Linked DNA regions of Homo sapiens: all the other regions are linked to region 6. The links are contacts of gene promoters, found by promoter capture Hi-C in human tissues and cell types (Jung and others, 2019). All regions are on one chromosome and are shown on one strand. The core of a region is centred on a gene start or on the middle of the fragment in contact, and the rest is flanking DNA. Distances in the headings are between cores, read along the strand shown. Region 1 has its middle 8.9 kb from the start of APOBEC3B. Region 2 holds the start of APOBEC3B-AS1 (APOBEC3B antisense RNA 1). Region 3 holds the start of APOBEC3C (apolipoprotein B mRNA editing enzyme catalytic subunit 3C). Region 4 holds the start of APOBEC3F (apolipoprotein B mRNA editing enzyme catalytic subunit 3F). Region 5 has its middle 16 kb from the start of APOBEC3A. Region 6 holds the start of DNAL4 (dynein axonemal light chain 4). Region 7 holds the start of DMC1 (DNA meiotic recombinase 1).

The links. Contacts are between HindIII fragments. The study calls those that stand out against the background at their distance.
Region 1: a fragment that was not itself captured here is called in contact with the fragment with the promoter of DNAL4 in region 6 in 3 of the 25 tissues and cell types used here (lymphoblastoid cells, small bowel and spleen).
Region 2: a contact is called between a fragment that was not itself captured here and the fragment with the promoter of DNAL4 in region 6, in 4 of the 25 tissues and cell types used here (IMR-90 fibroblasts, heart left ventricle, lymphoblastoid cells and 1 more).
Region 3: the fragment with the promoter of APOBEC3C here is called in contact with the fragment with the promoter of DNAL4 in region 6 in 2 of the 25 tissues and cell types used here (mesenchymal stem cells and spleen).
Region 4: a contact is called between the fragment with the promoter of APOBEC3F here and the fragment with the promoter of DNAL4 in region 6, in 4 of the 25 tissues and cell types used here (IMR-90 fibroblasts, aorta, mesenchymal stem cells and 1 more).
Region 5: a contact is called between a fragment that was not itself captured here and the fragment with the promoter of DNAL4 in region 6, in 2 of the 25 tissues and cell types used here (lymphoblastoid cells and thymus).
Region 7: the fragment with the promoter of DMC1 here is called in contact with the fragment with the promoter of DNAL4 in region 6 in 1 of the 25 tissues and cell types used here (bladder).

Annotation. Positions count from the first base shown.
Region 1 is chr22:38,971,701-38,975,215 of GRCh38, reverse strand. No RefSeq gene overlaps it. Among named protein-coding and RNA genes, the nearest start is that of APOBEC3B, 8.9 kb to the left of the region's middle. RefSeq lists an enhancer at 265-1,042. The HindIII fragment of the contact is 5,438 bases long and covers 1-3,515 here.
Region 2 is chr22:38,996,475-38,999,751 of GRCh38, reverse strand. APOBEC3B-AS1 (APOBEC3B antisense RNA 1) reads left to right here and starts at 1,532. Exons shown (of 5, transcript NR_104187.1): 1 at 1,532-1,666; 2 at 2,015-2,271. RefSeq lists an enhancer at 1,027-1,667. The HindIII fragment of the contact is 5,994 bases long and covers 1-3,277 here.
Region 3 is chr22:39,012,581-39,016,269 of GRCh38, reverse strand. APOBEC3C (apolipoprotein B mRNA editing enzyme catalytic subunit 3C) reads right to left here and starts at 2,013. Exons shown (of 4, transcript NM_014508.3): 1 at 1,891-2,013; 2 at 519-675. The coding sequence starts at 1,907. RefSeq lists a silencer at 1,723-1,772 and enhancers at 1,883-1,992, 1,565-2,182, 1,912-2,206, 2,183-2,801. The HindIII fragment of the contact is 14,453 bases long and covers 1-3,689 here.
Region 4 is chr22:39,038,858-39,042,498 of GRCh38, reverse strand. It overlaps APOBEC3F (apolipoprotein B mRNA editing enzyme catalytic subunit 3F), which reads right to left and starts at 1,635. Exons shown (of 7, transcript NM_145298.6): 1 at 1,522-1,635. The coding sequence starts at 1,538. RefSeq lists enhancers at 1-713, 1,766-1,825. The HindIII fragment of the contact is 19,854 bases long and covers 1-3,641 here.
Region 5 is chr22:38,939,543-38,943,062 of GRCh38, reverse strand. No RefSeq gene overlaps it. Among named protein-coding and RNA genes, the nearest start is that of APOBEC3A, 16 kb to the left of the region's middle. The HindIII fragment of the contact is 9,821 bases long and covers 1-3,520 here.
Region 6 is chr22:38,792,556-38,796,160 of GRCh38, reverse strand. It overlaps DNAL4 (dynein axonemal light chain 4), which reads left to right and starts at 2,018. Exons shown (of 4, transcript NM_005740.3): 1 at 2,018-2,093. RefSeq lists a silencer at 1,827-2,276. The HindIII fragment of the contact is 13,707 bases long and covers 1-3,605 here.
Region 7 is chr22:38,568,504-38,571,780 of GRCh38, reverse strand. DMC1 (DNA meiotic recombinase 1) reads left to right here and starts at 1,598. Exons shown (of 14, transcript NM_007068.4): 1 at 1,598-1,738. LOC105373031 (a long non-coding RNA gene) reads right to left here and starts at 1,281. Exons shown (of 2, transcript NR_134627.1): 1 at 1,187-1,281; 2 at 423-1,028. RefSeq lists enhancers at 863-912, 499-1,009 and a silencer at 1,313-1,602. The HindIII fragment of the contact is 22,042 bases long and covers 1-3,277 here.

The sequences.
Region 1 (3,515 bases), core at 316-2,815, 180 kb before region 6:
ATGATGGCTCCTCACTGTGGGGTTGGGCGCAAGGGTTCAATGAGCGCTCCCATTCAGGTGTAAGGTTTAAATGAGCCGCTCCCCTTCAGGCATAAGGAACGGAGCCTGGTGGGTGGTCAGTACTCAGTAGATGTTGCTTATTTTCACTTTTTTCTGCTTCTGTTTGAGTCCTTAAAGTTTACAGCAAGGGGAGTCATAACACCCAGTGCCAGCTCCCTGTTTAGGGCTATGCACACTCAAGCACCGTAGCACTCGGCAAACATGGGCTGACAGCCTGCGTGTCCTCCCAAAGGTAGAAACAGCAGGGCTTAGGAACAGGGGAGCTGGGAGCACTAAAGGTGACTGCAGAGTCCAGCCCAGGAGACTGGGGGTGTCCAGCTGGAGAAGGCGATTTGGGGTCATAAGTGACCAACATTGAGACTCGGCACCCAGTCCGAGGGAGGATGGGGCCAGGGCAGAAGGCCCAGAGAGAGGAGATGCCGTCCAGCCAGGAGGAGGACGCTCACATTCACGGGAGCTCCAGAGGAGGGAGGCAGAGTAAAGAAGCGACCACAGTGCCAGATGCTGTAGGGGGCTGTGCACGGCCTTGGCCTGGCCTCTATATTTCTCCTCCTCGAGTTCTGTTTCTCTTATCTTTACTATTTGAGGCCACACCTGGCATGATGCTCTTCAGGGTCTCTGTCAACGGAGCGCCCGTCCAGAGGGCAGAACTGGGGAAGCCAGTATCACCCTTCCCTGACTCCGGGACACGTGAGGTGCAGATCTGGGCTCTGCCCAGAAGCCATGAAAGCCAATCTGATACTAGCCTTGGTTTCCTGGACTGGGACAGACTCACCTACATCCCTGCAGTCTTAGGGCATGTTATCCAGGTGACGCCACTCTGGGTGGCAAAGACAAAACCCAAAAAGCAAGGGCAGGCCGGGCGCGGCGGCTCACACTTGTAATCCCAGCACTTTGGGAGGCCAAGGTGGGCAGATCACTTAAGGTCAGAAGTTTGAGACCAGCCTGGCCAACAAGGTGAAACCCCATCTCTACCAAAAATATAAAAAATTAGCTGGGTGTGGTGGCGTGCACCTGTAATCCCAGCTACTCAGGAGGATGAGACAAGAGAATCATTTGAACCCGGGAGGTAGAGGTTGCAGTGAGCTGAGTTGGTGCCACTGCACTCTAGTCTGAGTGGCAGAGCAAGACTCTGTCTCAAAAAAACCAAACCAAACCAAAAACCAAAAAACAAAAAACAAAAAAAACAAGCAAGGGCAGGTGCAGCCCAGCCCCATCCCTGTGTTTCTCAGCACCTGGCCCAGGCTCTGCAAGGCACGGACTCCTGGGTGACAAAGTGGAGCTTCAGGGTCTCCTCCAGTGTGGCCTGGGGGTCCTGCAACCTGACTTTCACGGGACCCTGCCGAGGAAAGGGACAAAGGTTTATGCCGCATGCCTCTGCTGCATGCTCGCCCTCTAGAGGGTGTGACCTGAACAGCACACTTGAGAAGTTGAATTTTTCTCACCTTCCTACAGTTGAGGAGTGGGACTGTCAAGGCAAAGCAGCCTGGGTGGTGACAGCAGGCTTTGGTAAAAAGGTTCTCTCTGCCCTGGATCCTGGGTCCAGGTTCTATTCTGGTGTTACTGAGGGTCCTAGCGAGCTTGCACCGGAACTCCTTGCCTTGTCCCGTCTGCATGACTCTTGATGACCTACTTCGATATGGAGGGGTGTGCCCTACCTTGAGCTTGGCCCCAGCGTCCCCCTGTATGGAGCCTCCACCTGTTCTCCCTTTCCCAGGCCCCCCAGGCCCATCCCCTGCCTGCTAATAGTCCTTGCTCCTAGAGAAAACAGGCCCTGCAGAGGCCCCGGGTTGGATATGCTCACGTAGAAAATGTTCACTTGAGACCTTATTCGTCTGATCTTCCCTTGCTTGGGTGACTCTAACAAATGTCGACTTTTTTTTTTTTTGAGACAAAATCTCACTCTGTTGCCCAAGCTGGAGTGCAGTGGCACGATCACCGCTCACTGCAGCCTCAACCTCCGGAGCTCAAGGCATCTTCTCTCCTCAGCTTCCCACATAACTGAGACTACAGGCTCACGCCACCACACCTGGCTAATTTTTTTGTATTTTTTGTAGAGGTGGTCTCACCATGTTGTCCAGGCTGGTCTCAAACTCCTGGAATCAAGCCATCTGCCTGCCTCAGCCTCCCAAAGTGCTGGGATTACAGGTATGAGCCACCGTGGCTGGCCAAAGGTGGATTTTTCATCATTTTTCTCTAAGGGCTTGGGCTGGTGTGGTGGGGGTGCAGTGTACGCCTCACGCTTCCTCCGGTCTGTTTTTACAACCCTTTGCCATGAGATTTTGACACTCTTCTCATCAAGGGATGCAGTCTATTTTTTTGTCCCCTTCCATCTGGGCTGGTCTGTGACTTGCATTGGCCAATAAAATGCAGTAGAAATGATGTCATGTGATTTCCTTGGCTGGGCTTTGAGTAGCCTTGTAGGTTTCATTTTTTGCATATCTAGGACTTGCTCACCTACATGCAAGGAAAACAGACTTGTAGTCCTAAATGCTGCGAGACCAGGTGGAGAGAGGAAACACCCCAGCTGACAGCCTGCCCAAGCCTCCAGGCATGTGATGAAGGCCCCCTGGATATTCAGCCCCATCTAGCGATTCCCTTTTTTTTTTTTTTTTTTTTTGAGATGGAGTTTCTCTCATGTTGCCCAAGCTGGAGTGCAATGGCGCAATCTCGGCTCACTGCAACCTCCACCTCCCGGGTTCAAGCGATTCTCCTGCCTCAGCCTTCCGAGTAGCTAGGATTATAGACACCCGCCACCACACCCAGGTAATTTTTGTATTTTTTAGTAGAGACAGGGTTTCACTATGTTGGCCAGGCTGGTCTTGAACTCCTGACCTCAGATAATCCACCTGCCTCACCCTCCCAAAGTGCTGAGATTACAGGCCTGAGCCACCGAGCCCAGCTGGAGATCACTTGTGTTTTAGAGCACAGATCTCTGAACCTGAGGCAACTCACCCCCACAAAACAAACTGAAGGTGCCCTGTCTATACCTGGGATTGATTTAGATGACAGGATCTTGGATGTGATGTCTGAACATGATTCCATATTGGGGTGATACTTTGTGGCTGTTGGGAATGGGTGGGTTATTTTCAAGTGGGTGGAGTAAGATGCATTGGCACACAGGGAAGACTGATAAACTGTCATGTTGGCGATCCCCAGTGAAACACACCCCCTGATATTCACATCCTTGTGACTGGCTTCCCACACAACACACAGACACACACAAACACACACACACATACACGTATATTTTCTTTTTGAAAAGCATCTCGCTCTGTCACCTAGGCTGGAGTGCAGTGGTACCATCATGGCTCACTGCAACCTCCACCTTCTGGGCTCAAATTCTCCTCCTGTCTCAGCCTCTGGAGTAGCTGGGACTACAGGTGCACACCTGGTAGCAACAGGGTTTCACCATATGGCCCAGGCTGGTCCTGAACTCCTGGCCTCAAGCGATC
Region 2 (3,277 bases), core at 440-2,939, 200 kb before region 6:
CATGTGGACGTCCTGAGTCTTCCACGTCCTGAGTCTTGTCCTTGGTGTCACCTACAGTCCTAGCCAAGGACTCTCCCCACCGGCTCCCAACCACCCTTCAGCCCAAAGCCTCCCCCTGACATCCCACATGACAGCTGACCAGCCCGGTGCAGGGTCCTCATTTCCTGCAATTTCTGGCTGTTGGCAGTGGAGGGGTCAGGCTTCAAGCCTTCTCGTTGACGTTGACATGCTCAGCCAGGAAGCTGTTCACTGTCTGGGCACATTAAGGACAAGGGCTCCAGGAGATGCTCCAGGTGACCTGGTAGCACCAGTGCATGGCCAGTGGCTTTAGAATGTTCATGGAGAAGGAGAAACAAGTTTCCAGACAGTCAGATTCCTCAAGGCAGAAGAGGAGGGAAGGGGAGGGGTGGTGGTTTGGGTGACTGTGCAAGCCAGATGGGGGGTCCTCAAGCTCAGCCATTCCAGTGTGCTGCTCTCTCCTGAGAGGGAGGGAGGGAGGGAGGGAGGGAGGGAGGGAAGGAGGCAGGGAGGGAGGGAAGAAGGGAGGAAGAAAGGAAGGGAGGGAGGGAGGGAAGGAGGGAAGGAAGGGTCAAGGAAGGGAGGGAGGTGTTGTGGGAAGTCAGGGACCCCAAATGGAGGGACCAGCTGAAGCCATGACAGAAGAACGTGGATTGTGAAGATTTTATGGACATTTATTAGTTCCCCAAATTAATACTTTTGTAATTTCTTATGCCTGTCTTTACTGCAATCTCTAAACATAAATTGTAAAGATTTCATGGACACTTATCACTTCCCCAATCAATACCCTTGTGATTTCCTATGCCTGTCTTTACTTTAATCTCTTAATCCTGTCAGCCGAGGAGGATGTATTTCGCCTCAGGACCCTGTAATAATTGCATTAACTGCACAAATTGTACAGCATGTGTGTTTGAGCAATATGAAATGTGGGCACCCTGAAAAAAGAACAGGATAACAGCAATTGTTCAGGGAATAAGAGAGATAACCTTAAACTCTGACCACCGGTGAGCCGGGCAGAACAGAGCCATATTTCTCTTCTTTCAAAAGCAAATGGGAGAAATATCGCTGAATTCTTTTTCTCAGCAAGGAACATCCCTGAGAAAGAGAATGCGCACCTAGGGGTAGGTCTCTGAACTGGCCCCCCCAGGGCGTACCTGTCTCTTATGGTCGAGATTACAGAGGTGAGATAGACTCCAGTCTCCCATAGCGCTCCCAGGCTTATTAGGAAGAGGAAATTCCCGCCTACTAAATTTTGGTCAGACGGGTTGCTCTTAAAACCCTGTCTCCTGATAAGATGTTATCAATGACAATGGTGCCCGAAACTTCATTAGCAATTTTAATTTTGCCTCAGTCCTGAGGTCCTGTGATCTCGCCCTGCCTCCACTTGCCTTGTGATATTCTATTACCCTGTTAAGTACTTGATGTCTGTGACCCACACCTATTCACACACTCCCTCCCCTTTTGAAAATCCCTAATAAAAACTTGCTGGTTTTTGCGGCTTGTGAGGCATCACGGATCCTACCAACATGTGATGTCTCCCCCGGAAGCCCAGCTTTAAAATTTCTCTCTTTTGTACTCTGTCCCTTTATTTCTCAAGCCAGCCGACACTTAAGAAAATAGAAAAGAACCTACATGATTATCGGACCAGGTCCCCTGATAGGGAGGGAAGGAGGGAAGGGTGAAGGAAGGAAGGGAGGGAGGGAGGGAGATAGGGAGGGAAGGAAGGAAGGAGGGAGGGAGGGAGGGAAGGTGGGAGGGAGAGAGGGAGGGAAGGAAGGAAGAGTCAATGAAGGGAGGGAGGGAAGGAAGGAAGGGTCAATGAAGGGAGGGAGGGAAGGAAGGAAGAAAGGAAGGAAGGGAAGGAGGGAGGGAGAGAGGGAGGGAAGGAAGGGTCAATGAAGGGAGGGAAGGAAGGGAGGGAGGGAGGGAGGGAAGGGGGGAGGCAAGGAAGGACAACTGGTTCATTCATATACTAGTTCCTTCATTCCTTCAACAGTAACCCAAGAGCACCCACTCAGGGCCACGGCTCAGGCAGGAACCTGGGATGCAAGGATGGATGGCACATGGTCCTCCCTCCAGGAGATCACAGTGTAGGGAAATCAACGAGGACCCATAGTGAGCCCCTCCATCCCACGTACCCCCTCCTCTATCCACTTGTGGGCACTGCAGCCTGGACTTCTGCATCAGCAGCTGTGTGGAGGTCTGTTACCCTGAGATCTGCAGCCAGGACAGGGGGCTGTGCCCAGGAACAAGGTAGGTCAAAGGGAGGTGGGAGAGCCCAGGCGGGTGGGCGCAGCATGGGAGGGTGTGTTGCAGGAGGCTGTGGTGGCTGCTCTGCTCCAGTGACCAGAGGGAATGGCTCTAGCTACCTGGTGGGCTGGTGTTGGGCACACGAGGCATTGTCGGGGGGGCTATGATCGTGTGTAGGTCCCTCCCAGAGGGCCCCAGGCCCTGGGTTTCCATCTTTGTGGCTTCCATGCAACTGCGTTGTGCAATGTGTTTGGTCTGAGCCTGATGGGAGGAAGAAAGCTGGTCTTGTGGGGGGCTCCCCTTTCCCTACCAATCTGGGATTCCTGTGTCCATCCCCAGCTAACACCTGGTTGTGAAGGACACTGGTGTCCAGCAGGACAGGGTGTCACCATCTGATCACTCTACATGGTAGGATAGGCAAGTCTCCCCTCGCCCTTTGGCCAGCTGTAGGTTTTCATAGTTAAAGTTGAAGTCCAGGTCAGGCGCGGTGGCTCACACTTGTAATCCCAGCACTTTGGGAGGCTGAGGCGGGCAGATCACCTGAGGCCAGGAGTTCGAGACCTGCCTGGCCAACACGGTGAAACCCCATCTACTAAAATACAAAAATTAGCCGGGCATGGTGGTTCGTACCTGTAATCCCAGCTACTCAGGAGGCTGAGGCAGGAGAATCGCTCGAACTCGGGAGGCAGAGGTTGCAGTGAGCTGAGATGGTGCCATTGCACTCCAGCGGGGGTGACAGAGTGAGACTCTCTCAAAAAACAAAAACAAACAAACAAAAAAAAGTTGAAGTCCTTTGGAGACATCTGGCATCCAGAGGTCAGAGGGGAGATGAAAGGAAGACACAGACGGGTGCCCTGCAGCCCTGGCAGGCACTTGTTCATCTCTGAGGCCCCGACCACCTGGGATGAGCCTGGAAAGCTTTTTGCTTTCTTTGCTGGTGGTCTCCAGGACCTTCTGCCCCGAATCCAGCCTAGTCCACGAGGCCACATCTCATTTTTCCTTGTGTAGA
Region 3 (3,689 bases), core at 764-3,263, 220 kb before region 6:
TGAGATTGTGCCACTGCACTCCAGCCTGGGCGATAGAGCAAGACTCCGTCTCAAAATAAATAAATAAATAAATAAATAATGTGGGGAGGAGGCCAGGGGCATGGTGTCTCACGCATGTAATCCTAGCACTTTGGGAGGCCAAGGCTGGTGGATCACTTGAGGTCAGGAGTTCGAAACCAGCCTGGCCAACATGGCAAAATCCTGTTTCTACTAAAAATACAAAAGAATTGGCTGGGCATGGTGGCAGGTGCCTGTAATCCCAGCTACTCGGGAGACTGAGGCAGGAGAATCGCGTGAACCTGGAAAGCAGAGGTTGCCGTGAGCTGAAATCAGACCACTGCATTCCAGCCTGGGTGACAGAGCGAGACTCCATCTCAAAAAAAAAAAAAAAAAAATAGAAATGTGGCAGGAAAGTGCACACAGGAGAGCCCACGCCGGGCACATCACTTATTGTTGCGTTTTCTGCATTCCCAGCTGCTTAGCTCCTATTTAGGGTGTAACTAGGACTTTGGTGCTACCTGGTTTCGGAAGACGCCCGTCTTCCAGGAGACAACTGAGCGGCGCTTTATACCTTCCACGGTGAAGCACAGCCAAGTTTCGTTCCGATCGTTGGCTTCCCATAGGTTTTTAAATTGGAAGTAGAATGTGCCTGGATACATTGCCTTCATCGGGTTTCTGAAGGCACAAGAGAGAAACCCCAATGCAGAGACCCCCGCACCGGAGTCCTCAGGGCTGATGCCCACTGAACACAGCTGCCTGGACGTCCCTGGGCTCTGGGCCTCCCCCATCCCTCCACAGCCCTGAGAATGTCTGCTGCTTTCCCAGGCAGGAAGACGGGGAGAGAGAAAGAGGAGGGGACGCTGGCAGGGGCAGCAGGGCCGGGGTGACCTCTCCTAGCTGGAACCCCAGCTCTGGGGCTACCAATGGAACACCCTCAACCTCCCAGTTTTTCTGCTACTTTTTTTTTTTTTTTTTTAAAGACGGCATCTCGCTCTGTCCCCCAGGCTGGAGTTTGCAATCTCAGCTCACTGCAACCTCCACCCCTCGGGTTCAAGGGATTCTCCTGCCTCAGCCTCCCAAGTAGCTGGGATTACAGACGCCCGCCAGCACCCCTGGCTAATTTTCTGTATTTTCAGTAGAGACGAGGTTTCACCATGTTAGTCAGGCTGGTCTCAAACTCCTGACCACAAGTGACCCGCCCGCCTCAGCCTCCCAAAGTGCTAGGATTACAGGCATAAGCCACCGTGCCTGGCCTAAAATAAGAGCATTTCTCCTGATCATCATATTTTTTCCTACACTCCATGTTGCAGGTGTCATTCTGAAAGGTGAACGGTGCTCACAGAGGAGGAGCCTGTGTCTGGGGTCGTGTGCATCCTACTCTGCTCACAGTGGAGGCATCTTTGGAAGAAGTGACTTATTTTCTGGTACAGAGACCATTCCCTCCCCCACACCCTCTCCTAAGACTTTGTATTGAAACAAAGTAAATCTTACAGAAATTGCACCAAAGCGCTGAGAACAAAATGCCTGATTGCTCAAATCATCCTTTGGTTCAATTCTCCCAGTTCCAGAGCTCCCAGGAATAGTGGGAAGCACACAGAGGAAGCACCCTCCCAGGGCGGGAAGCACCAGCCCGGGCATGATTTTCGGGGGAGAGTCTCAGCAGGCGGACTGGGCTGGGGCAAGTGGGGAAGGTGGCCCATTCAGAAGCAGCAGTCGTGGGACCACACAGCAGGGCAAGGAGCTTGGCTGGGAGTGGGGGCAGCGGGGGAACCAGGGGGGAGGGAGCCCAGAGGTGGGGCTGGGGCAGGGGGAGGCCAGGGCTGAGGCCCAGCAGGACCGCCTGGCAGGAAGTGGCAGGAGGGGCCTGGCGGACAAAGCGTGCAGAGGTACCTGATCTGTGGATTCATGTTCAGCCTCTTAGATATGCTTGTCCCTGTCCCACTCTTTTCTGAAGCGCTGTGGCTTCTCTTCCTGCTTACAGCGTCCTTGCAGTTGAGCAGCCCTCTTTAAAGTGACCTCCCAGGGCCTTGTGAATCATGGCCCCTCCCCATTCCTGCTCAGGCACTGGTGTGGGAGGCCCCGGGGTGCTTCATGTTTCTCTGGCTCTGGCCCTCTTTCTGGTTTTCTCCGGGCCCCTCCTACTGGCAGAGGAACCTCCGATAAAGACAGGCTGCTCTGTCTTTATCTGTCCTGGGCAGGACCCAACGGAACTGCAAAAAGAAGAGAAAGAGAAAGAGAAAGGCATTGCAGCCTGAGCCTGGGACGCGGGTCCAGACCCAGCTGAGAGAGGGGCAGGTGCCCCGTTGCCTGGTGGTTGGGCAGGCTGGAGCCCCCTCTCCACCACCCCCTCCCCAGCCCTAATGTGTGCCCAGAGCTTTGAGCAGCACCACCCTGTTGAGTGAGGGGAGGTTTTGAGACCCCAGTGGGGAAGGAAGTGTGGACTCCGCACAGCACAAGCGAAGGCTTAGGTGTGCCTCGAGTTCCCAGCTGTGTGCTGAGTCCATCGCACGCATCCCCTCTTCCAACCTCCCAGCTTCCAGAAGGTGGGGGGCAGTTCAGCCCCTCAGAGATGTGGGCGGAGGATTACCTAGGTGCTGAGGCAAGAGACTGAAGGCACAAACTGTTTCAGTATAATAAAGAATATACTTACAATAAGAATAGTTATAATACAAATTAGATACAGAGATGATCATGGACATTATCAATCATTAGTGTAGATATTATTAATCATTAGCTTTTAATATTACTCTTTATTGTATTACTAATATAACCAAGAAATAACCGGTGGGTATAGGGTCAGGTGCTGAAGGGCTGTTGTGAGAAGTGACCGAGAATGCAAGAGGTGAGCCCTCTGTCACACCCGCATAAGGGCTACTGGAGGGCTCCTTGGTCAGGCGGTAACGCCAGTGCCTAGGAAGGCATCGTTACTTAGCGGACCACGAAAGGGAGTCTCCCTTTTCTTGGAGGAGTCAGGGAACGCTCAGCTCCACCAGCTTCTTGTGGGAGGCTGGATAGTATCCAGGCCTGCCTGCAGCCATCCGGAGGCCTAAACCCCTCCCTGTGATGCTGTGCTTCAATGGTCACGCTCCTTGTCCACTTTCCTCCTGTACTCCTGGTCCCTCTTTGAAGTTCTCAGAAGATAGCGGTAGAAGAAATAGTGAAAGTCTTAAAGTCTTTGATCTTTCTGATAGGTGCATAGAAGAAAACGCTGACGTATACTGCCTTCCCTCTCTGCTTCGGCTACCTATAAGGGAAGGGCCCCCTGTCCTATGATCACGTGACTTGCTCGACCTTATCAATCACTTGGACGACTCACCCTCCTTACCCTGCCCCCCTTGTCTTGTATGCAATAAATAACAGTGCACGCAACCATTTGGGGCCACTACCCATCTCCGTGTCTTGATGGTAGTGGTCCCCCGGGCCCAGCTGTTTTCGCTTTATCTCTTTGTCTTGTGTCTTTACTTTTTACGATTTCTCATCTCCACACACGGGGAGAACACCCACTAAGCCCCATAGGGCCAGACCCTACATCAGGGACTGCGATGTCTGCGACATCAAGCGGTGGAAGCAAGTGTCTACAAACAGGCTCACGGCCCACAGGGACCTCTCAAGGGGTTCCGTGTGGACCAAGAAAATGTGAAACACATACACACACAACTTTCTGATTATTTAAGTTCATCTAAGCATAT
Region 4 (3,641 bases), core at 386-2,885, 250 kb before region 6:
CTCTACTAAAAATATAAAAATTAGCCAAGCGTGGTAGTGGGTGCCTGTAATCCCAGCCACTGTGGAGGCTGAGGCAGGAGAATCGCTTGAACCTGGGAGGCGGAGGTTGTAGTGAGCCGAGATCGTGCCACTGCACTCCAGCCTGGGCTACAAGAGCGAAACTCCATCTCAAAAAAAAAAAAAAAAAAGAGAGAGAGAATAAAACTATTCACCCCAAAATAATAGATTTTAACCTTTCAGCCAGTTCCTTCTGACATTTCACCTCTGTATATTACTATTGTTAAATCATGGTAGAACCGAATTCTGAGGCCCAGGCCACTCTTCTAAGTGCTGCGCGGATGTGAGCTCATGTGAGGCTGCCCTAGGCCCGCACGGGCCATTCCCATCTTACAGAGGAGGTGCCAGAGGCGCAGAGAGATGGGGTAACCTGCCCAGGCCACAGAGCTGGGGACGGATGGGGCTGGGGCCTCTTACCAGACCAGCCCTGTCCAGTCTCTGTGTCACCAGCCTTGCAGGAGGGAGCCATTGGGGACCAGACTCTCTTCTTACTAAATTTTAAAATAATAGCATTTCTCCTGATCATTGAGTTTTTTTCCCATATATTCCATGTTTTTTGTTTTTGTTTTTTTTTCTTTTGAGACGAAATTTGGCTCTTGTTGCCCAGGCTGGAGTGCGATGGGGCGATCTCGGCTCACTGCAACCTCCGCCTCCTGGGTTCAAGCGATTCTCCTGTCTCAGCCTGTGGAGTAGCTGGATTATAGGCGCCCGCCACCACACCCGGCTAATTTTGTATTTTTAGTAGAGACAGGGTTTATCCATGTTGATCAGGATGGTCTCGAACTCCCGACCTCAGGCAATCCACCCACCTCAGCCTACCAAAGTGCTGGGATGACAGGTGTGAGCCACCGCACCCGGCCACTATATTCCATGTTACTCGTGTCATTTATAAACAGTGAATGCTGATAGTGGAGGAGGAGCGTGTGTTTGGGGTCATCTGCATCCTCCTCTGCCCACAGTGGAGACATCCTTGGAAGATACGATTTATCTTGTGCTTCAGAGACCATTCCCTCCCCACACCCTCTCCTAAGACTTGCTATTTAAGCAAAGTAAATGTTACAGAAAATCCATCAAAGCACTGTGAACAAAATTCCACATTGCTCTAATCATCCTTTGGTTCAATTCTCCCAGTTCCAGAGTTCAGGAATGGCGGAAAGAACACAGAGGGAGCACCCTCCCAGGGCCGGGAGCACCAGCCCTGCCATGACTTTCGGTGGCGGGGGAGAGTCTCAGCAGGGCACCTGGGCTGGGGCAGGTGGGGAAGCGGCCTATTCAGAAGCAGCAGTGGGGCAACCACAGAGCAGGAAAAAGAGCCTGGCTGGGAGTGGCGGGGGCAGGGGAGCCAGAGGGGAGGGAGCCCAGGGCTGGGGCTGGGGCAGGGGGAGGCCAGGGCTGACGCCCAGCAGAGCCACCAGGCAGGAAGGGGCAGCAGAGGGGCCCAGCGGGTAGAGCGGGCAGCGGTACCTGAAGTGAGGCTTCATCCTTGGCCGGCTAGTCCCGACTAAGATCTTTGTCTGGAGCACCAGGGTTTCACTTTCTGCTCCAGGCTCCAGGTTTCAGGACAGCCCTCCCTAAAGTGACCTCCCAGGGCCTCGTAGTCATGGCCCCTCCCCCTTCCTGCTCAGGCGCTGGTGTAGGAGGCCCTGGGACGCTTTATCTTCCTCAGTCTCTCACCCTCTTTCTGGTTTTCTCTGGGGCCCTCCCCCTGGCAGAGGGACCTCTGATAAAGACAGGCCGCTCTGTGCGGCAGGACCCAAGGCAATTGCAAAGGGAAAGAGAAAGTCATTGCAGCCAGCGCCCGCGAGGTGGGTCCACACCAGGCTGAGCCAGCAGAGCACAAGCCCCTCCCCTGGTGGTCCCGCCCAGCTGGAGCCTCCTCTCCACCATCAAGACAGACAGGCTGATGCCTCCGCAGGGACTCCCGGATCCTGCCCTCGGGGATCATCCCAGAGACGGCCCCCACCCAGCGGCCATGGGGACAGGGAGGGAGAGTAAAGGGCCAGGTGTCTGCCTCTCCCCAGGCCTTCACCCTCGGAGGCCACCGTGGGAGGGAGGGACAGCAGGTGGGTGTGGGCCTCAGATGTCCCACCGGGATGCCATGCGCGCCCCCACACTGAGCTCTTTCCTTCCTGCTTCTCCTTCTTCCCCATCTCCTGCCCGGAGTTCCTCCCTGGTGGGCTGAGCTCTCGCCTCCTCTTGTCCCCATGTCATGGAAGAGCAGTGGCTGGTGTCCCAGGCCAGCCTGTCTGGAGCCTCCCTGCGCGTCTCACAGCTCCCTTCCCCTGGTAGCGTGTTCCCATGGCGCGGTGACCTAAAAATTACACAAGGGATGCATTTGGTTTTTTTGTTTGCTTTTGTTTTTTTGTGTTTTTTTGTTTGTTTGTTTGTTTTGAGACGGAGACTTGCTCTGTTACCCAGGCTGGAGTACAGTGGCGTAATCTCAGCTCACCGCAACCTTTGCCTCCCAGGTTCAAAAGATTCTCCTGCCTCAGCCTCCCATGTAACTGCGATTACAGGCACCCACCCCTACGCCTAGGCTAATTTTTGTATTCTTAGTAGAGACAGTGTTTCTCCATGTTGGTCAGGCTTACAGCCGCCCACCACTATGCCTGGCTAATTTTTGTATTTTTAGTAGAGACAGGGTTTCTCCATGTTGGTCAGCTGATCTCGAACTCCCGATCTGAGGAGATCCGCCCGCCTTGGCGTACCAAAGTGCCGGGATTACAGGTGTGAGCCACCGCGCCTGGCCACAATGTATAAATTTGGAAAGGAGATTTTATTTCTTGTTAAGGGTGACAGGCAGCAAGGTAGCCATCCCGCAGCCTGGGAAGAGCAGCCTCTGGGAAACACCAGAGACAGACATTTAGAAGCAGGAGGGGTTGGGGCAGGAGCTTTATGCTGAAGGGGTTGGCTAAACATACATATTCAACAGGCTATAGGAGGAGCTATGAATATTCATGTGGGTGGCTGCACTCCATGCTTATTGAACAAACATGCGTGTAACATATGATCCCAGGCAGGCACAGTGGCTCACGCCTGTAATCCCAGCATTTTGGGAGGCCGAGGCAGGTGGATCATCTGAGGTCAGTGTCAGGCCTCTGAGCCGGAGCTAAGCCATTGTGACCCCTGTGAACTGCACATATACATCCAGATGGCCTGCAGCAGCCAAGAAGTCTGGAGCAGCCAAAAAAACACAAAAGAAGTGAAACAGCCAGTTTCTCCCTTAACTGATTAACCAACCTTAAGACATTCCACCATTAGGACTTGTTCCTGCCCTACCCTAACTGATCAATCGACCTTATGACATTCTTCTTCTGGACAATGGGTCTCATGGTCTCCCACCATGCACCTGGTGACCCCCTCCCCTGCTGACAACAGATGACCACCTTCGACTGTAACTTTCCACCACCTACCCAAGTCCTATAAAGCTGCCCCTCTCTTATCTCCCTTCGCTGACTCTCTTTTCAGACTCAGCCCACTTGCACCCAAGTGAATAAATGGCGTTATTGCTTACACAAAGCCTGTTTAGGTGGTTTTCTATACAGACACGCATGACAGTGAGGAGTTCGAGACCAACCTGGCCA
Region 5 (3,520 bases), core at 537-3,036, 150 kb before region 6:
TCTGGTTTTGTCTTATTTTGTTCAGAGTCAGAGCTCCAGGGGAGTCAGATTGGGTTTGGGTTCTGAACTGGCCCTAGTCCTGGAGAGGGCAGGGGCCTGGGTTGTCTTGTCCACAAATCAATCAAGATGACAATCAAAGGAGAGGCGGTTCCCCAAAGGCAGCAGAGGAAGGGATGCTGGGCAGGCGAGTCCAACCCAGAGCAGCTACACAGCCAGGTGCTGTGGAGTGGTCAGTGCTGCCCTGGTCTCACCCGGAGCTTCTGTTTCATCTCCCCACAGCACGTTCCTTCTGTTTCCTGTTTCCTGGAATCTTGGATCACCTTCTTTACCTATTAGAGATCTTTGGTTGCAAGCAAAAGAAACTAACCATGGCTACCTAGAAACGTGGGGGAAGCTGGGTGCGCTGGCTCACACCTGTAATCCCAGCACTTTGGGAGGCCAAGGCAGGTGGATCACCTGAGGTCAAGAGTTCAAGACCAGCCTGGCCAACATGGCAAAAGCCCGTCTCTACTAAAAATACAAAAATTAGCCAGGTGTGGTGGCAGGCACCTGTAATCCCAGCTACTTGGGAGGCTGAGGCAGGAGAATCACTTGAACCCAGGAGGCGAAGGTTGTAGTGAGCTGAGATCGTGGCACTGCACTCCAGCCTGGGTGACAAAAGTGAGACTCCATCTCAAAAAAAAGGAAACATGGGGGGCGGCTCACAGAGTGGAAAGGTTAACCCTTTTCTACACTGGACAGACAGAAAAGGTTGAAGAGTTAACACCTTTCCACACTCTACAGCCATGGTCCAAGGAGGAGGCCAACAAGATCATGGCACGATTGTAAGCATCATCGGTGGAAAATCAAAAAGGTGGAACCATTTGGCTGCCACATGAAGAAGATGTTTTTTGGAACGGCATTAAGACAGGAAGATTCGGGAGAGGTAAGTCATCATGACCGAGGTTGGTGAGATGCACGTTCCTATAAGTACGGTGATGTAAACCCCAAAGACTGGGTTTTCAACATTTAGATTCAATCTATAGACAGGACATGGGAGGCTGAGATATGTTCACAAAATTAATATAAACATTCTCAACCTTAATAATGTGAAGGCGAAAGTGAAAGAGGTCAAGATGGAATGAGGAGGGAGGCTGGAAGAGGAGTGAGGGAAGTGTCAGCGGCTGATTCACAAGGTTGAGTCAAGTGATTCTGCTTCTTGTTGAGTTTCAGCAAGCACTTGAAGCTGTGGGCGTTTGCCCACGGGGGACCTGAGGGCACTGATGCAACTACATGAGGAGGGGAGAGGAGGGGAGGGGAAGTTCTGGAGAATTATAAGAGCGAAACTCTCATATTCGCGGAGGGAAGGCAGTAGATACCATCAAGAGCTAGTAAATCAAGAAATAGTGGTTCCCCGAGGAAACCACCCAAGGAACTAAAACCAGAGGGTCAGTATGACTGACTCCGAAAACCGGAAGCAGCCTAGAGGAGAAAATCCTCTGCGCCGTGTTCCCTTCTCCAGGATGTTGTCTTAACTAGTGTGTGTTATATCAACAACTTTTAACCTCATCCACAATGTGAAATAAAACGATACTATAACCAGGAATTAGTAAGAAAAGCACAGACTTTCATCAGAAAGCACCATTAAGGGAGTAAGGGAGTGAAAAGGCCTATCATAGACTCGGAAAAGATGTCTGCACTATATCTACCTAACAAAGAGTTTATCTCCCAAATATATAAGGAGCTCCAGAAAATCAGTAAGAAAAAGAGCCCATTATAAAATGGGCCAAAATCTTGAAGGAGCAGCTTACAAAAGTGGATATCAAAATGGCCTGTGAACCCATGAAAATGTGGTCAACCTCATTAATCATCAGAGAAATGTAAAGTAAAACCACAGTGAGATACCACTAGCCCCTCCCCACCAGGATGGCTAAAATCCAAAAGACTGACAACATCAAATATTGTCAAGGATGGAACTCTTTTACATTGCTGATGGTAGCATAAAAGGGGCAGCATAGAATGTTTAGTTGCAGCTACTAAAGCGAAACAAGCATCTACTCCATGACTTAGCAATGCCACTCCTAGGTATTATAATATCCAACTGAAATAGATGCTATGTCCACCAAAAGGCTGCATAAGAACGTTCACAGTCTGGGCGCGGTGGCTCACGCCTGTAATCCCAGCGCTTTGGAATGCTGAGGGAGGCAGATCACCAGAGGTCAGGAGTTTGAGACCAGCCTGGCCAACATGGCAAAACTCCATCTCTGCTAAAAAGAAGTACAAAAATTAGCCAGGCGTGTTGGCATGCACCTGTAATTCCAGCTACTCGGGAGGCTGAGTCAGGAGAATCCCTTGAACCCAGGAGGTGGAGGTTGCAATGAGCAGAGATGGTGCCACTGCACTCCAGCCTGGGCAACAGAACGAGACTCTCAAAAAAAAAAAAAAAAAGAACGTTCATTTCGCTTTATTCATGACAGCCAAAAACTCGAAATAACTCGGTCTGTCCAGCAACAATGGCATATATTAAAATATATTATAATATATAAAATTATTTTAATATATAAATTATATACAATGTAATTTTAATATATTATAATTTAAAATATATATTAAAATATATTGTGAATATGTTATACATGGTAAATATATTGTACTCTCTCCATCAATGGAATACTACACAGCAATAAAAATGAATGAACTCCTGGCATATAAAGCATCAGTGAACCCCACAAAAGTAATATTGAACAAAAGAAGTCACACATAAAAGAATTCATACTGTGTAATTTCTATGAAGTTCAAAAACAGGCAAAATTAATCTATGATAATAGAAGTCAGAACACCAGTTTCCAGTGGAGGGGGAACAAATCGAATGACATGCATGAGCCACCTGAGATTCTGGAGAAAGCCTCCACCCCATCTGGCCGGTGGTTACATCAACTGCAAACCTAAGCTTTTGCAATTAACTCTAAGTTATACTCCAATACAAACATTTTTGAAAGAAAACAAAGTTTCAAAGCCTGTATTTTGAAAGAAGGGAACAGTTTTACTAACGGACATAAAATATCCCAAATACACTGATAGACAGAAATACAACACAAATGCAAATAGAATCACCATGACTGCTCTTAGCTTTCTTTCTTTTTTTAAAATAGTAAACGGGTTATTTAAGTCCAAGTGACAGAATAATTGTGATTGAAGGAAATGAGGGGGTACTTACAATATATCAGAAACTAGGGAAGCTGACTTGGCATGGTGGTTCACGCTTGTAATCTCAGCACTTTGAGAGGCCGAGGCGGGGGAATCACCTGAGGTCAGGAGTTTGAGACCAGCCTGGCCAACATGGTGAAACCCTGTCTCTACTAAAAATACAAAAATTAGCCGGGCATGCTGGTGTGCACCTGTAATCCCAGCTACTAGGGAGGCTAAGGCGAGAGAATTGCTTGACCCTGGGAGGCGGAGGTTTCAGTGAGCCGAGATTGCGCTACTGCACTCCAGCCTGGGCAACAGAGTGAGACTCCGTCTAAAAAAAAAAGAAACTAGG
Region 6 (3,605 bases), core at 769-3,268:
TTACTCCTCTCTGAATCACTAGCACCTGACGAGGGCTGAGCTCCCAGTAGATGCTGTAACTGCCCAATGGGTTCACCTTGCCCACTGCCTAGACAGAGCCGATGTATCAAGACAGGGGGATTGCAATGGAGAAAGGTAATTCAAACAGAGCCAGCTGTGCGGGAGAGGGGAGTTTTATTATTACTCAAATTACTCAAACAGAGGAATGCAGCGGTGAGATTTGGGTTTTGGCAGGGTCATGTTGACTATGGTACAGAGGATAAATTAGAGAGGTGCAAGACTGCAGCCAGGGAGTCCCACCAGGAGATTGCACTCAGGTAGATGGGATTGTGGTGTTGTGCACATGGAGGGTGCCATGAACGTGGCCAGAAAGGCTGTATCAGGAAATAGTGAGGAGTCGAAATTGGCATGCTTGTGACTGGAAGTGGGCTGTTGTAGTGGGAAGGGTGAAGGACTCCCCCCTGTTTTCTGATGGAGGCAACTGGGTCGGGGGTGGTGCCATTTACTGGAATGGGGAATGCAGGAAGAGCAGATTGGAGGGAGATGATCAATTCAGTTTGGGACACACTGAGTTTGAAGGGCTTGTGGAACATTCTGGTGCACATGGCTAGGAGGCAGTTGAATATGCTACCCAAGCATTCAGGGATCAGAGGTTTTAAAGATAATTTTGTGGGTAGGGGCTTGGCAAGCGAGGAGTGTTGATTGATTAAGTCGAAGATGGAATACTGAGGGGGTCGAAGTGAGGTTTTCTTGCTGTCTTCTGTTCCTGGGTGGGATCACAGAACTGTTTGAGCCACATTACTGGTCTGGGTGGTGTCAGCTGATCCATCGAGCGCAGGGTCTGCAAAATATCTCAAGCGCTGATCTTAGGTTTTACAATAGTGATGTTATCCCCAGGAGCAATTTGGGAAGGTTCAGACTCTTGCAGCCAGAGGCTGCTGTGTGACCCCTAAACCATAATTTCTAATGTTGTAGCTAATTTGTTAGTCCTACAAAGGCAGACTGGTCCCAAGGCAGGAAGGGAGCCTTTTTGGGAAAGGGCTATTGTCAATTTTGTTTCAGAGTAAAACTATAAACTAAATTCCTTCCCAAGGTTCGTTCAGCCTATGCCTAGGAATGAACAAAGACAGCTTAAAGGCTAGAAAGGCAAGATGGAGTGGGTTAGGTCTGATCTCTTTCACTGTCATAATTTCCTCAGTTATAATTTTGGCAAAGACAGCTTCAATGCTAGTAAATGTGGCAGTGGGGTTTCACCCCAAGTACTCATCACAATAATAAAGGTTTAAACTACGAAGTACCCAACTGACCCTTTGATCTACCAATCAAATAATAGAATCCGCCAGTTCTTCCCCTTTCCCCTTTTCCTTCTCCGTACTTTCGGATTAATTTTCCCTCCCAAGGGGAAGAAAAGGCAGGCTCTGGGCAACTGTGTCTGAAATTAGGTGGTACAAATGTCTCCTAGTGACTAGAGCTAGGTGACCATACAAGGGTGTGGCACAGAGGAAGGAGCCCCTGGGTTCCTTCTCCAGGGAGATTACCTCCATCCTTTACCAAGTTACTTAACCTCTCTGAACTTTAGTTCAGATGGGATGACGAATATTATCACCTAAAAGTACTGTAATGAGAATCAAGTGAGATATTAATTGTACAGCCCTACAAAAATGCTAGTTATTATCAGGCTTTTCAGATCCCAATAAAGTAGTGGCTAAGTGTCACGACACCAACAAGTTGCATTTGTTATTTCAAGTGACTAAAAGAACCTCCCAAGGCAGTACTGCTTTTCGAAGTTTGTTTCCCTAGAAAAAGAACTTCAATGTGTCCCCTGCTCCTCGGGCACGCTTAAGACAACTATAAGTGAAGTCCCGCCTCCCTGGCCTCTAAACCACGCCCCTGTCCTTGCAAACGCCTGACTTATAAGGGCCTTTCACTCTGATTGATACTTTTATCCACCAATAATAAGTGAAATTCTCGTCAACGTCCGGTGAGGGGGCAGGACTTCCTTGCTGGTTGCTAAGACACTCTTGTTTCGCTCCTTGACAACCCTGGCGGGGGTTCGCTGGCTGCGGCCCCGGCTCCGGCCCCCGCAGGAGCAGGTGAGGCCCCGGGGCGCGGCGGGCAGCCAGGCGGGGAGGGCCGGCCCGGAGGGAGGGCGGGAGGCAACGCAGGGCGGAAGAGGCCTCGCCCGCCGCCGAGGCCCCACCTCGGTCTCCTGCCTGCTGTTCCCCTGCCCCAGGTCTTCCCATCCTCAACCCCCACCCTCACCCCCACTTCGGGACCTGCGAGCTCTGTCGTGACAGGTTTGCCATCGCGACTCTGCCGGCTGCTCTTCCCCACCCACCCAAGGCCTGCCCAGCTTCGTGGTCCCGCGTCCCCCTTTAGCCGACTTCCCCCAGCACCTTGATCCCTCGACCTTTCGCGGAGTAATTCCCTCTCCCGCGGGGTCGCCATCAACTAGGTCAGACCGCTCTTGGCTTGGAGAGTTGGCGACTTACTGGGATTCTGGGCTGGTCATTTCCCCTGTTTGGGCCTCAGTTTCCCCATCTGTAAATGAGAAGTTGAGTTGAGTGATCTCTAAGGCCTCTTCCACTCTGACGTTCTAGGATGTCGTTGTTCTTTGACCCAACTTTAGGCTTCCGAGAGGATGTGCTCCCCAATGGGAGGTATCGTGTATTGTGAAAATAACTTGGCAAACCTAATTTGGATTCCCAGTCTCAAGACCTACCCTCCCTGCGCTTTTAATCAGTGCATATGTAAAATCAGTATACGTCGGTGCATCTCCTTTGGTAATTCTGAGGCTAATATGAAGTACAGAGTCCAGTCCAGTATAGATTCAGTATTTGTTAGTTTCTTTCCTTTGTCTCTTCACCACATTTTCCCTCTCTGGGAAATGTTATCAACCCGGTCAGCATGAACTGTCATTTCTCCAGTTGACCCTCTCTGATCTTCCTCCTGGGCTTCCATGGTTAGGGTTACTTAGGGGTGGGGAGGGGACAGATGGAGATTGAAATACAGTCATGTACCATATAACAACGTTTTGGTCAAGAAAGACCACAGATACCACGGTGGTGCCCTAAGGTTATAATGGAGCTGACAAATTTCTATCACCTAGTTACATAGCTATCGTAATGTCAAAGCAAAATGCATGACTCACGTGTGTGGTGATGCTGGTGTAAGCAAACCTACAGTGCTGCCAGTCATATAAAATATAGCACATACAATTGTGTACAGGACATCATACTTGATAATGGTAATAAATGACTGTTACTTGTTTATGTGTTTACTATCCTACACTTTTATTGTTATTTTACAGTGTACACTCCTCCTACTTATAAGAAAATAAAATTTAACCGTAAACAGTCTTAGATAGGTCCTTCAGGAGGTATTCAAGCAAAAGGCTTTGTTATCATAGGAGATGACAGCTCCATGCGTGTTATTGCCCTGAAGACCGTCCAGCGGGACAAGATGTGGTAGTGGAAGATAGTGACACTAAGCATCCTGACCCTGTGTAGGCTTAGGCTAGTGTATCTGTGTCTGAGTTTTAACAAAAAAGTTAAAAATGTTAAAAATAAAAAATAAAGGCCAGGAGCGGTGGCTCACGCCTATTA
Region 7 (3,277 bases), core at 349-2,848, 220 kb after region 6:
CAGAGTTTTTGTATGATACGAAAGACAATTTTTTTGGTTCCGATTTTAGTGGAAAGTCTTCATGTGCACTTTTTAACTGTCCTAGAGTTTGTTGTTGTTTTAAATATCTTAAAAGTTGTCTCTAACCATCGATATGATACCCAGATAAGATTTTTCTCCTCCCTTCATGAATTTGTCATTACCCAGCTCATTTTAGTTTTTTTAAGTGTACTGCACACAACCTTCAAATATTATGAACATTTCTCTCTCCCAGCTGTCACTACACCAAACTACATATGTTATATTTCCCTAAATCATCTTGCTGTGCTCTTTGCAGCTCTTCTGTAGACTGTTGATGTCTTCACCTAACGAGTTGCTCAAAAGTTCCCATAATTATTTAGGTGAGGCCTCAGAGCGAAAGCCTTTCACCACTATCCAGTTCCTCCCCCAAATGGGCATTCATCTCCATATAACAAGGACGACTGTGTTTGGGGGAAAATAACAGATTTGGAAGCACAATGGCAGTTATTTGTTGGCTCTTAAAACAATCCACCTGTTGGGGGGGTGCGTCCTACACAAAATGCCAACTGCTATTGTGGGAATGTTTTGCTATTTATTCCACCAAAATGATTCAGACAGAAAAAACAAAAAGGATCGCCCTGTACTAGGTCTTGAACCCAAAGAACTGTTTGCACAGAGATTCATCCAAGATACATCACAGCCTCCACCTCGGCAGCTGCTCTCTCAAATGTTTCCTGACTCTCCCCAAGTCAGTCTCCGCGTGAGGGGAGGAGGAGGATGCTGCCAGCGATGGCGCTGCTGGCACGAAGGCTGGCCTGCGACTTCTATTTAAAAGCTGAACCAAAATATACTTGGCGTCTGTGGTCTATTTAAAACTTCAAGTTAAGACAGAGAAAAAATTACTCTCCATCCTGAATGGGCCTCGGGTGTCTCAATCACAGACAAGAGTGGCAAATGGTGAGAGTCAGAAAGTGGGAAATTAGGAACGCTGAGGGAGCACGGCCAAACTCTGAAGCCAGCATGAAAACCTGGAGGTGAAAAGAGAAGCCATGGGCAGCGGGGGCGGGGGGAAACGGGCCCGGATTCGACCTTCTAAGCCAAGGCTCCATCTGCAACCCTCGCGACCAAGACCTATCGCCAAAGTCAGCCACCTCTGCTCATCGCCCCTCCCCCGACTCAAGGCTACCTCCTCAGAACCCCGCCTCAGGGTCTTCTCCCGGACTTTAGCGAGGTGCTCAGCTCGAGGGACGCCCCAGCTCAACGGTCTCCCTTCAAGGCCCCGCTCCTCAGCGCGCTCCTTCCACAGCGCCCCTCCCTCCCTCCCTCCGTCATCCCAGCTCGCCACCCGCTGGGGCTCCTCTTCGTTTTCCGCGCCTCAGCCCTCGCCCCGCCCCCTCGCCCTGAGCCCCCTCCAGGCCACGCCCTCTGGTCCCCCCACCTGTGAGCCCGCTCGTTCCCCGCCCTTCGGTCTTCGCCCCGCCCCCATTGCTCCCCGCCCCTCGTCGCCCTCTGTAGGCCTGCTCCCTCCCCGCCCTTCCACCCTCACCCTGCGCCCCGCCCCGGCCCCTTGGTCCTCGCCCCGCCCTCCTCGTTTGGCGCCAAACCCTGTGGTCAACGGCGCGCGGGTCTCCAGGCTCCGTGTTCTAGGCCCGAGTTAGAATCCTGTCAGCTGAGGAGGTCGGGCGGGGCAGAGGGGCTTCACCTTGAAAATCTCGGGGAGACTGTGGGTACGAGGGGGGTAAGTGGCAAAAACGAACAGCGTGCGAAGACTCTGAGGGGACGCTCGTTTTGAGAAGGCGCGCTTCCCTTTCTCGCTCCTTTTTTGGGGTCCCTGGGCTAGTGACTTTGAGCGTTCCGCTCCGACCTTTGGGGAGGAATTTTAGTGATCTTGAGGGATTTCCAACCTCATTTTCAATCGAATCGGACCTGAGTCTAGGAGAGCCCGCCTCATCCTCCTGACCAGGGAATCCGGTGTCAGGAAAATGTCCGGCGGCCGCAGGGGGTCTGCCCAGGCCTCCTGCTGAGGGAGGCGTCGAGGGCGACCCGACCGCGCTGCTGCCCCCACCAGAGGGGACAGCTGGGTCGTCTTAAACCGGGGGATTGGGGAGCCCTACTTTCAATCCAACGGTTCAGTCTATCAACGGCTCCTTGAGAGATGGGGGACAATCTTTTCATTTCATCACGGGGAGAAGAAATGAATGCTGTTTTTCTCTTCGATGGGGACAGTAAATGTGGAATTGGGGTACTCATAGCTAGCCATCTGAAGGACAGTGTCCCCGAAGATCCCATCCGAACGGTCTCGGTTGCCTTCCATCCTTTGCCGTTTGAGGTGCTGGGTGGTAGGACCCTGCTCCTGCCTTAGTATTAATGGTTCGTTCCCTTTGTTCTAGGGTCCAACCCCTGACTTTGGTATCAAATGAGGAAATGGAATCGACCAAGAAAAATGATGATTTGGACCGCATTTTATTGTAATAAATAAACACAATCACGCCTTGTGGATTCCTGAGATTTCTTTTTGAGTCTACAATGTTAAAAACTTTAACTGCTTATCAGCCTTAATATAATATTATGATCCACCAATTTTTTTTTTTTTTTTTGAGACTGAGTCTCGCACTGTCGCCCAGGCTGGAGTGCAGTGGCATGATCTCGGCTCAGTGCAACCTCCGCCTCCCAGGTTCAAGCGATTCTCCTGCCTCAGCCTCCCAAGTAGGTGGGATTACGGGCGCCCACCACCACGCCCGGCTAATTTTTTTGTATTTTTAGTAGAGACGGGGATTGGCCAGGCTGGTCTCGAACTCCTGACCTCGTGATCTGCCTGTCTCGGCCTCCCAAAGTGCTGGGATTACAGGCATGAGCCTCCACACCCGGACCACCATATTTTTAAATCTTAAAAAAATCATGAAACTAGTAAATACTGTGAAAGAAAGTATAGCTAATGTTCTATGAAACAAAAAGGTGGATGTTACAGGAGTACCCATTCATAATCAGCAGGCAGGAAGGCATTCATCATAGATGAGAAAAATAGAATCCATTTATTGAGGACAAAGTTGGAGGTGTCAGGGAGGACACAAGGAAGAATGATATAATGTCAAGGTTCCTAGAGTATTGTTGTTAAACATAAACAAGAAAGGTTAAAAGCAATATGCAATTCTAAATAACATTCAAGGCAGTAATAAAGTCATGATTAGCTGTGCAATGGAAACCAGATGATAAGTGATCACTGTTGGGGAAAGAGAAGAAACTAAATAAGCACCCCCCAATTTGCCCCTCAGGCATC